Linked DNA regions of Homo sapiens: region 1 is linked to region 2. The links are contacts of gene promoters, found by promoter capture Hi-C in blood cells and fetal thymus (Javierre and others, 2016). All regions are on one chromosome and are shown on one strand. Each heading gives the region's core, a stretch centred on a gene start or on the middle of the fragment in contact. The rest is flanking DNA. Distances are from core to core; before and after follow the strand shown. Region 1 overlaps ABHD15 (abhydrolase domain containing 15). Region 2 holds the start of NUFIP2 (nuclear FMR1 interacting protein 2).

Region 1 (5,336 bases), core at 2,072-4,571, 270 kb after region 2:
ATACTAAATTATGAGAATTAAGTTATAGCTTAGCACAATCTTGATATCAGAGATCAGAACTTAGAACTCACAGAAAATTTCAGAAGCAGTTGTCTGCTTTCTGCATTCTGATCCATGGCTAGAGACAGAGGACTCAATTGCCACTTCTGAATTAATGCCTCCCTTTAGTCATTGGCTTTTTGTTTTTGCTTTATTGTTTTCATTATGATTTTGAGACAGGGTCTTGCTCTGTTGCCCAGGATGGAGTGCAGTGGCGCAGTCTCGGTCCACTGCAGCCTCTGCTTCCCAGGCTCATGCGATTCTCTCACCTCAATCTCCCAAGTAGCTGGGACTACAGGCGTGTGCCACCACACTCAGATGGAATTTCACCATGTTGGCTAGGCTGGTCCTGAACTCCTGGACTGAAATGATCTGCCTGCCTCGGCCTCCCAAAGTGCTGGGATTACTGCACTTTGCAGTGAGTCACTGCACCTGGCTCGTTTCCTTATTTGTATTCATTTTTTTATCTTACCATTTGAAGGTGTTGGTAAATAACGGACACCAAAAAGGAGGCAAGCAAGTAATGAGGCCTGAAGATTACTGAAGACCCACCACCTGGAAAGTCCAACTCAGTGGTTCTTAGGTGTTCGGGAGGGGCTCACTGAAGTCTCGACCTCCAGGGCTGAAGCAGTGCTACCGCCTCAGTCTCCCGAGTGGCTGGGACTACAGGGTGCACCACCATGCCTAGCTAATTTAATTTTTTGTAGAGATGGGGTTTTGCTATGTTGGCCAGACTAGTCTCGATCTCTTGGCCTCAAGTGATCCTCCCACCTCAGTCTCTCAAAGTGCTGGTATTGCAGGTGAGAGCCACTGTGCCCCGCCTATTGTTTGGTTTTGTTGTTTGTTTCTTGCTTCCTCAAACTCATAACTTGCCATTTTGTTCAAGGGCCACCCATTCACAGAACAGTGTGCCTGGGGCTCCTCCAGCTGGCTTCACACAATTAGCTATTTACCAAAGCAGAATTCACCTGTGTGATTCTTGAATCATTAGGCTAAAGGACAGGGCCATCCAAATCTTTCCTGCTTGAACAGAAATTACACTTTCTCAGCACAAAACAGGCATTTCAGCCCTAGTCTTCAAGTAGTAATGGGAAAATCAGAGAATGTTCTTGGGATATGCAGTGGGTGCATCTGGCACAAGGGCCACGGAAGAGAAATACTTTAGGGTTCGGGTCACTAGAGTTCAGGGTTCAAAGGAATTAATGGAACGTGAACTGGGGCTGATTCTGCCATTCTTCTGACTGTAACTACAAAGTTTATACATTTCTCTCCCTGGAAAACTTTCTTTCCTATCAAAAGGGAAAGGAAAACCAACCACTATTTCTCCAAAAGCTATTCTCTTGAAGAACCAGAATCTTGCATTATCTGGATAGTTTCTAGAGAAACTATGCAGATTTTCACCCTTAGGGACTCTTTAAGCCTTAGGGTTTAAAAACCACTAGGCTGCTTCCCATTTTGCAGGGCAACTGGGACTACGGGACCCTAATTAACTGAAATCCTCACTGTACCAGATGTGGAGGGCAGCTGGTGGTAGCGGATGGCCAGATGGCAGTAAATCTCCCTCACCAAGGCTTACACCAAGGCTGTTGTTCACCGGCAGTAGAGCAGCTTAATTTCAGTTCCTTTTTATTTATCCTGCTTAGAAACGGCAAAAGAACGTCAGATGAGGAATATGGAGGAGGAGAAACAAGAAGTGGGGAGAAGGGAGATAATTTTTCTTTTCTTTTTTTTTTTTGAAACACAGTCTTACTCTGTCGCCCAGGCTGGAGTGCAGTGGTGCGATCTCAGCTCACTGCAAGCTCCGCCTCCCGGGTTCACGCCATTCTCCTGCCTCAGCCTCCTGAGTAACTGGGATTACAGGCACCCGCTACCACGCCCGGCTAATTTTTTGTATTTTTAGTAGAGATGAGGTTTCACTGTGTTAGCCAGGATGGTCTCGATCTCCTGACCTCGTGATCCACCCACCTCGGCCTCCCAAAGTGCTGAGATTATAGGTGTGTGCCACCGCTCCCAGCCAGGAGGGAGATAATTTTTCACAACAAGATAATGTCCCTTAGATTATCGAGTGCTGTCTACATTTCAGTGCAGATTCTTGGAGTTATTTCAAAGTTTCTTCTGATTTGATCTAGAAGAACAAGATCTAGAATCTGGGGCAAGATTATCCAAACCTGAAATCAAGGCCTCAGGAATACCTTATACCAAGTCTTGGAATGTGGGTTTTCGTATAAGCAGCTCTCTTCTTTACAACAGCTTTGCTGTTTTTGAGGTCAGAACAGGAGCCCTCTTTCTCAATGACGATTAAAATAAAACTTCAGGGCAAAGTTTTTGAATCTTAGCAACACATGGAAACATATGTCCTGTTGCCAAAAAAATTTTAATTGCCTAATCCAAACCAGAATATTTAGATCAACCTGTATACTATATATTATCTCTGATATACTATATCTCTAGTCCTCAGCATTATTCTTCATAAAACCAAATACCCACTTATTTGCTGAGTGGCCAGATCTAAGAGGAAGCTTTTCTGCCTTTACAGGGATGGCCTTTTGAATAATTGAGCAGACGAAGCATTGGAATATGAAATATTTGTAAATCACTGGTCAGCTCTAGTCAACCTCTTGGTGCTTTTGTTTCCTCTGGTCCCAGATGTGTCTCCTGGCTCTGGAAAGGGAGAGGCCAGTAGTAGGATCAGAAAAGGGAGCAACCAACCAGAAAACACCTAAGTTATGAGGTTTGTGCTTTTCCTGACTTAGAGAAAGTCCATATCTCAGGAGATAAACAGTTCTGGCTGCAGCTCTCTGGAGTAATCCCCTGAAATGGTGCCAGAGGGAGCATGTAGGGTAGCCAAGATTCTGACTCCTTGAACCATGGTCTAGCAAAGCCCTCAGATCCTGCATGAGAGCGCTTCCTATTTGTAAAATACCCTTGGGATCTCTCCAGTGAGGCTTGGGGGCCAGATCAGCCCCATTCCTAGCTGAGACTTGCAGAGCTCCTCTGAGAGATTGGAACTTCGCATTCCTTGAGATGGACATTCACATTCTCTACCTGCTCAGCCCTCAGCGAGCCAGCCCCACTGCCTCTGCCGCCCTTCTCACACACACAAGCCTGCTGCCGCAGTTGCCAGAGCATTCGGTCAAAGCAGGGCGCCACAACCACAGAGCAAATGAGGGAAGTGGGGCCGAGACACAAACATCCTGTCCTCATGACATCAAATGGCTCCAGCTTGAGAATCGGGGTCACTGCCCAGTGACATACACAAACGTCTCATCCCTCTAGCCACTGCCAGTAAGAGGGCATTTTCTCCTGAGTCCATGGATTGAAAAAGTGCTATCCTTTGGCTTGTGATGTCAGTGACAGGTGACAGTGACTGGAACGCGCCGCTGCTGACCGGATGAGTAGGGATATGTTGAGCAGAGGCCAGGCAGGAGTTCTGCTGAGGATGAAGTGAGTGCAGGCTCGCAGGACGTTCCTTCTCTTTCAAGGCACCAATTTAAGAGAGAGGGACTGAATGAGGAGCACAGAGCTGGAGCTCCCTCTGTTCAGTCCGCCCCATCTTTCCAGGACTCCCCCTTGCCCAGCTCTGTTTTTCTTTGCAGGACTTGGGGGTTCTCAGGCCAGGTCTTTCACCTTGTGTATGATCGCTTCCAGTTAAAGATCTCCTCCAGGTTGGAAGAGGAAGAGACTTCCCGCCTCTGCAAGGCTCCCCCACGACGACGGCCCCCAAGGAAGGAAGCTCTGTGCCTGCTCAGCCCTTTAATCCTCTCCTCCGTTCGGAAGAACTCAGTCAAGGCCCGGAAGGACTCCAAGATGACCTCATGGCTCCAGGCTGGCAAGGGCTCCTGGCGCAGGAAGCCACAGTGGCCTCCGTGGCGACTGAGCAGGAGGAAGAAGTAGGGGTTGCTGTGGAAGAGTTCAGTTGTCAGAGTGTGGTCTGGGGGTCCACACACGGGGTCGTCAGCACTGCAGATACACAGCACAGGCACGGCTGCCTCATCGACATCCCGGAGCGGGTCGTTGCGGTCCCAGTAGGTATCCCAGCTGATGGGGAAGCTTTTGGTGTGGCAGAAGAGAGCCTCCTCAAACTCTCGAAGGGAACGGCTCCTGAACAGTCTGCTGGTGTCCACAGTGTCCTCCAGGGCTGTGGCATACCTGGCAGCGAGGTGTTTAGTGGGGAAGGTGGGAAAGAGAGGGAAGAATGAGAACATCAGGTGACAGCAGATGAGACAGACAGACAGCCCGCAGGCCAGATCTGTCCACAGAGGCTTTCTTTGGCCATTTAGGGCTTCGAAAACGTTTAATTTCATGGCCATCATTTAAAACCAGATAAGGCTGGTTGTGGTGGCTCACGCCTGTAATCCAAACACTCTGGGAGGCCAACGAGGTGGGTGGATCACTTAAGTCCAGGAGTTTGAGAACAGCCTGGGCAACAGGGCGAAAACCCATCTCTAAAAAAAAAAAAAAAAAAAATTAGCTTGGCATGGTGGCTCAGTCCCAGCTATTCAGGAGGCTGAGGTGGGAGGACTGCTTGAGCCTGGGAGGTCAAGGCTGCAGTGAGCTATGATTGCACCATTGCATTCCAGCCTGGGTGACACAGAGAGACCATTTCAAAAAATAAAATAAAATAATATAAAATAATAAAAGTGGCCAGGCGCGGTGGCTCATGCCTGTAATCCCAGAACTTTGGGAGGCTGAGGCAGGTGGATCACGAGGTCAAGAGATTGAGACCATCCTGGCCAACACGGTGAAACCCCATCTCTACTAAAAATACAAAAATAAGCTGGGCGTGGTGGCGGACACCTGTAGTCCCAGCTACTTGGGAGGCTGAGGCAGGAGAATCACTTGAACCCAGGAGGCAGAGGTTGCAGTGAGCCGAGATCGTGCCACTGCGTTCCAGCCTGCTGACAGAGCGAGACTCCATCTCAAAAAATAAATAAATAAATAAATAAAATAATAAAATTAGAAGATTTCACATAAAATGCAGGTGTCTGGCTTCTCTAGGGAAGTGGGAAGATCCAGCCACATGGGTGGGCATTTCTCAGCACAACAATGGGTTCCTCCCTCCTTCCTGTGTGACGGTGCCCACTAGGCCTGTCATTCACAGCATCACTGCACCTGTCTATGTGCCCTAGGGGCAGCATTTGACTTCACAGCTGCTGACAGTTCTCCTAACCTCAACTTCTGGCCCTCTGTGGAGAACTTGCTATGAACTGTAACCTACTAAACTGCTCCTAGAAGAACTTGCTGCTCAGAGTATCCAAACCAGCAGGTGACACCTCTGCTAATAATTCACATTTGAC
Region 2 (5,968 bases), core at 3,100-5,599:
GAACAAATAAAGGCATTTTCTTCTCCTGTATTAAAGTAACCCAAGAAAACATACTCAAGGCATAATCATTCCTAAAACAGACTGGCACAAAACTTGTACCACGAGAGAATACATCTTATAACAGTTATTTTTTTTCTTTTTTTGAGACAGATTCTCGCTCTGTGGCCCAGGTTGAAGTGCAGTGATGTGATCCCAGCTCACCACAACCTCCGCCTCCCAGATTCTCCTGACTCAGCCTCCAGAGTAGCTGGGATTACAGGCATGCACCACGATGCCCAGTTCCGCCACGTTGGCCTGGCTGGTTTCGAACTCCTGACCTCAAGTGATCTGCCCGCCTGGGCCTCCCAAAGTGCTGGGATTACAGGTGAGAGCCACCACACCGGCCTCTTAGATTTCTTAGAACTCTTAAGAGTTCTTAGATTCCACAGGGTTACATTTTTAAAAATTTTTTGGCTGCTGGAAAAGCTATGATAGCCAATCAAATCAAATTTTTGGTGGCACAATTTTAACTATGAAACAGCAAGAAAGAGATTATTGCTTAGGATGTTTTCTAAAAGCTTTTTTCCTCAGAAAAATCCCAGGCACAGTGGCTCACATCTGTAATCCCAGCACTTTAGGATCCCAGGCAGGTGGATCACTTGAGGTCAGGAGTTTGAGACCAGTCCGGCCAACATGGTGAAGTCCTATCTCTACTAAAAAAAAGAAAAAAAAAATCAGCTGGGCATGGTAGCATATGCCTGTAATCCCAGCTGAGACAGGAGATTCGCTTGAATCCAGGAGGCAGAGGTTGCAGTGAGCCGAGATCATGCCACTGCACTGCACTCCAGCCTGGGCCACAGAGTAAGGCTGTGTCTCAAAAAAAAAAAAAAGAAAGAAAGAAAGAAAGAAAGAAAAGCATAAAGTTCCTAAATAAAGGCTCTTCTCATCATTTTTAACAGATATAACTTTATCTCCTTACCTAACTCTGGATAAGACCTACCTGTATCATTTAATATGCTAACAGGTTAAACAAAGGTTTGTATCCTTGGGCCCATTAGTCACAACTTTTCAGATTTCAATTAAAGATGAGCAATCTGAAATAGCAAAAAATCCAATCTCCAAACTGAGCTGAACCAAAGCTAACAAGAATAATTCTTCCTAAGATTACTAGTATGTAGCGACTCAGATACTGGAAATCACCAAACAATGAAAAAACGGCTTAGAAGCCACTGTGCTCCCGCCCGCAAGTTTTAATAACAAAAAAAAAAAAAAAAAAGAAAAGAAAATCTTGTTTAACTACATAAAGTTTTTCTCATGACAACCTTGTGATATGTATGAAGTATGCTGGAAAGAAATTTTCTTTTTAAATAGTAGATATTTAAGAAAAATGTAAACATTATAGAATAAATTTAAGAAATTAAAGGATTCCTAGCGCTTTATTTAGGGCTGCTTATACTAACCCTACTTCCAAAAGACTCAGCAAAACTTGAGTCCTGATACATCTAGCTTTTCAATTAGAAACAAATTACTCAACACATTTGGCCTTCTCTTGCGCCCTCTTCTGGATTAAAAAAAACTGTTCCTCTTTAGGTTTGTGAGCAATGGATTACCAAAGCCTACCTCAACATGTTACAGATAAATTTCAAAAATATTGTAATGTTTTCTTAGTTATTAGCATTATGCATGTCAAAGCAACAGTACTGTGACCAAATCATACACTCGCCCCAAACTGTTTACATTCTGTCAAAACTGCTAATTCCAGTTTCCTCCTCTTTATCCACCCCTTCCAAGACAAGAAATATTTGGAGGAATACCACCTTGAATGGTTCAGCGGTTGCTTCCACATGTAGAGAGAAGTCTGGCAAGAGTATATTAACCTGACCGATGAGATACAATTTTTCAATCTCAACAGTAATATTGCCTTATGCAGCCATAATATGGTAGTATTTTCTCATCTTTTGAACAAGATCTAATGCTAAAAAATCTAGTTATATAGTCCCTAACAGTTTTTAAACTGTTCCAAATCTTTAGGATTAAAACACCTAACTCGTGCGTATGTGTTCACTTCTATTGCATACTATCGGGTCCCTACGAAGTCCCAAAATGGAAAATCTGACATTCTAATTTCAGTCTTCAAGTTACAATCTGCAATAAAAAAGCACTTAGTATTTCTCCAGCTCTCAACAATTCCTTCTATCAAATTTGATACGCTGGGTTTAACATACGCTTTCTTACGCTTCATTTCTCTTCGATTTATAAAGAGCCCTTATTTTTTAAAATCTGCGTGGGTTATAAACTATTAAACTCACTTCTCGTGAAATACTTTCTTACATGACTTTTACCCTCAATTTCTCGTTTATTAAGATTAGTTTGGGGATCAATATCGATTTTAAAATACGAAAAACACCTTTCTTTTTAACACGGAGAGAAGCCTCATCCGAGGCAAGATGGTAGTAGTCTAACCTCATGGATGAGCCACTTGGGTTCACCCTTAAGGACAAGAAAGAGGGGTCAAAAAGCTCGCACTCTTCCCCATCCTAACATTTTTTAAAATCCCTCACCTCAAAGACACTACCCAAGCTCAGAAGGTAAGTGCTGGGTCGGGAGGGGAATGGAACAAGGTTTTTGGATTTTTTTTTTTTTTTTGTAGAAAATGAGCTGCTAGAAGGAAAAGGCCCAAGTGAAAGCCTCAGAGGCGGAGTCGTGAGCGAACCTGGCAGGAGACGAGGTTCCTGTGGCAGAGAAACTCGTGACCGGGGAGCTGGGTTCCCGCTGGGTACCCCACCCGGCCTCAGGCACCGCCTCTACCCGAAATGAATCCCCCCGCCGCCCCCCCAGGCCTCCTGCCTCTAGGAGCGCCGCGGCCGCCGCCCGCGGCCTCCTTCCCTCTCAGCTCCGCTTCGAGGCCGGCTCCCCGCCCCGACTGCCCGCGCCTCCCGCCGCACCCGGGAGCGGGAAACGCGGCCGCTGGCGCGCGGGGCCCTGCGCAGGCCGCTCCCCTCGTGGCCGCTTCCCTCCCCCACCCCAACCGCCCCCGCCCCTCACCCCAGGGACCCGCCCGGGGCCGCGCGCCGCCACCGGGTTACACAACCCCGGCCGGCGACGGGGGGGGGGGCGGCCGCGGTGCGGGGGGCGCCGGCGCCCCCGCAGTGCAGGGGGCGAGGCTGCGGCCGGTGGTGATCCCGGGTCACCCGGCTCCGCCGCCCCGTGTGGCCCTCGACACCCTTCCCCCTCCGCTCCTCAGTGGGCCGGAGTCGGTGACAGGAATCGGCTTCCAACATGGCGGACAGGAAGCGGCCCCGCGAGGAGGAGAGAACATTCCAGCCGCGCCGGCTCTGGGGGGAGCGGGCGCGGGGCGCCGGCCTCGGGAGGAGCCGCGGGACAAGACTGCGGGGTCCGGCGCCCAAAAAGGGCGTTTAGTGGTGGAAATGACCCGTGAGATGAGGGGTCCCAACAGCCCCCCCCACCGAGACGGGGAGCCCCAAGGCCACAGGTGGGCTTGGGGTGGCGGGTGAGGGGCACTTCCTCAACTCACCCTACCTACCCACTCCTCGCCGCCTGCAAAAGGGTCTCGCGACACCATCCGAGTCGGGATTCGCTAGGCCTTCCTGAGTTACACCTCGAGGGATTTTTTGGGGGGGTAGGTTTACCCCATCTCAGGGCCCCCAAATTGAGGTAACTCCAGGGACGCAGGGAGGTGAATGGGAAAAGAATAATGAGGTTGGACTTGCAAGGCCGACCCAGCAGGTCTCCCTTCAGCCGGGGCCGGGGCCAGGAAGGTCACGCTGGCCTGGCTGGGCCTCTCCCATGCTGGAGGGAAGGAGAGGGCGCTGCAAACCCCATTGCTCAGCCCGAGCTCTAGAATGAAAGGGGCATCCCCAGAGCCGGAGGGGACACACACACACACACCCCGACCCCGTCCGCGCTTTTCGGATCCAGCCCCACCCCCATCTCTCCTGTCCTCCACCCCCAACCCCCTTCCCCCACCCGTCCTCCCTCCCAGACCTGTTTTCTTCTTCGGCGTTTCCTGGTGCTGCTGGAGGGTGTGTTTCTGCTCATGTTTCAGCGGCTTTGGCTGGGCCTTGGGGCTGCCCTCGGCTCCATGCTGCAGGTATTGGTGAGGCTGCTGGTGATGATGGTGGTGGTGGTGGTTGTGGCTGTGGTTGTAGAAATAATAATGGTGGTGGTGGTGCGGCTGCTGCTGCTGCTGCTGAGGGTGATGGTGCGGATGGTGGTGGCTGTGATGGTGCTGAGGCTGTGGCTGGCCGGGCTTCTCCTCCATTGAAAGCGGCTGGGACTCCCTGGCTGAGGCTGCGGGCTGCTGCACCGTCAGGATCTGAGACTGCTTCTCAGGGCTCACTCAGTATATCTGAGCGCGTCTCGCCAGCGCACTGGTTAACCGAGCGATTCTGCGAGATTGGCAGCCGCACTCCAACAATCAGGAGCCACGCTGTGCCGCAAGCCCCGCCCCCAGCTCAAATCCTCTTTCCTTCCCCTTCGCCGCTGCCGCCTGGCCAACGCCACTTACCCTGTGCAACCTCACAGGGCCGGGCCTTCAACGTCAGCACTATGGCTCTCTCTTCTGTCGCTTTCTCTCCTTCACCACGCAGTCTGTGAACAGCACTTTCTACACTCCTCGCCGGCAAGCAGGCTCGTGTCGAGGGTAGCAGATTCCACTGGCGATTCCACTGGTGCTGTGAGCCATCTGCTGGCTTTGCACCTCTTAGAATCTGGTGTTTTTTTGTTTTTTGTTTTGTTTTGTTTTTAATCCTTTTCCGGGTAACCAGAAAGGGAAGCTCAATTCCCTTAACCCCGAGACCACTAAAGGGGCAATACAAAAAGAGGAAATAAATACATTTTTAAGCATACAAGAGCTTCACAATCCAGTAGATCATTTTGTATTCTGGATTCATTTTGCTTTGTATTCATATGCTAATCTCTTCCTTTCCACGAAGGGATTATAGGGTTCCACAATGGGGTATCTGTGTAATTTTCTAAAAGGGCACAAAGGGTTTAAATCATTGTTTCTTTGTAGTTGGAGGCAAGGGAGAGCAGGAGGAATGAAAATTTACACTGAAGGTTTTTTTTTTTTTAATTAAACTCTGCAGGTGAGGTCAACTGTGGAACCAAAATAGGTTTTAGAATGAGAAGTTTCAAGAGCAAAGGAAGGGGAGAAAGAGCACTTAAAAGTTATTAAGTGGGTTTGTTTTTTTTTTTTTTGGCACTTATGGAAAAATTGAAATTAAAAGAAATATTCTGTAGCGTTTTGTAGTGTAGATTTAACTTATCCTGCATTACCACATCACAGTATATGATTTTCAAAAGCAAATGTTAGAGCCATGATAGTGGTTACTCAGGAAGGAAGAGGGTTGTGATGGGGAGGGACACAGGTTACTCTGATAATATTTCATTTTGGGGGCTAGGTGGTGATTACATATATTTGCTTAGTAATTATTTGTTAAACTGAATATACAGATAAAATGCACTTTTCCCAATGTATGTTATAGATTGGGGGATTTTTTTAATTGTAAAATATTCATAATATAAAATTTACCATCTTAATATTAAGTGTATGGTTCAGGTGCATTAGGTACATTCGTATTGTTGTAGAACCATGACCATCATCTATCTCCAGAACTTTTTCATCATTCCAAACTGAAACTTCATACCCAATAAAAATAAATGTCCTTTCCCTCCTCCTTCCATCCCTTGATAACCACTGTTCTGTTTTCTGTCTCTACGAACTTGACTATTCTAGGTACCTCATATAAGTGGGATTGTACTGTATTTGTCTTTTTGTGACTAGCTTTTTTGCATAATGTCTTCAGAGTAGCATACATCAGAATTTCCCTCTTTTTTAAGGCTGACTAATATTCCATTATATGTATATACCACATTTTGTTCATTCACTCAGCAACGGACATATGGACTGTTTCCTCAATGTATGTTACGTTTTTGAATTTTTAAAATGTGGCTTGAATTCCTACAA

Evidence for each region. Contacts are between HindIII fragments. The CHiCAGO score rates a contact against its expected background, and 5 or more counts as called.
Region 1: a contact is called between a fragment that was not itself captured here and the fragment with the promoter of NUFIP2 in region 2, in 3 of 17 cell types (megakaryocytes, M0 macrophages and endothelial precursors). The highest score is 7.1, in megakaryocytes.

The regions. Positions count from the first base shown.
Region 1 is chr17:29,558,899-29,564,234 of GRCh38, forward strand. It overlaps ABHD15 (abhydrolase domain containing 15), which reads right to left. Exons shown (of 2, transcript NM_198147.3): 2 at 1,649-4,188. The coding sequence ends at 3,663. Among named protein-coding and RNA genes, the nearest start is that of ABHD15, 5.5 kb to the right of the region's middle. The HindIII fragment of the contact is 1,531 bases long and covers 2,557-4,087 here.
Region 2 is chr17:29,289,799-29,295,766 of GRCh38, forward strand. NUFIP2 (nuclear FMR1 interacting protein 2) reads right to left here and starts at 4,350. Exons shown (of 4, transcript NM_020772.3): 1 at 3,985-4,350. The coding sequence starts at 4,261. RefSeq lists enhancers at 1-302, 303-803, 3,655-4,415, 4,109-4,208, 4,519-4,718 and silencers at 3,019-3,198, 3,829-3,948. The HindIII fragment of the contact is 5,437 bases long and covers 556-5,968 here.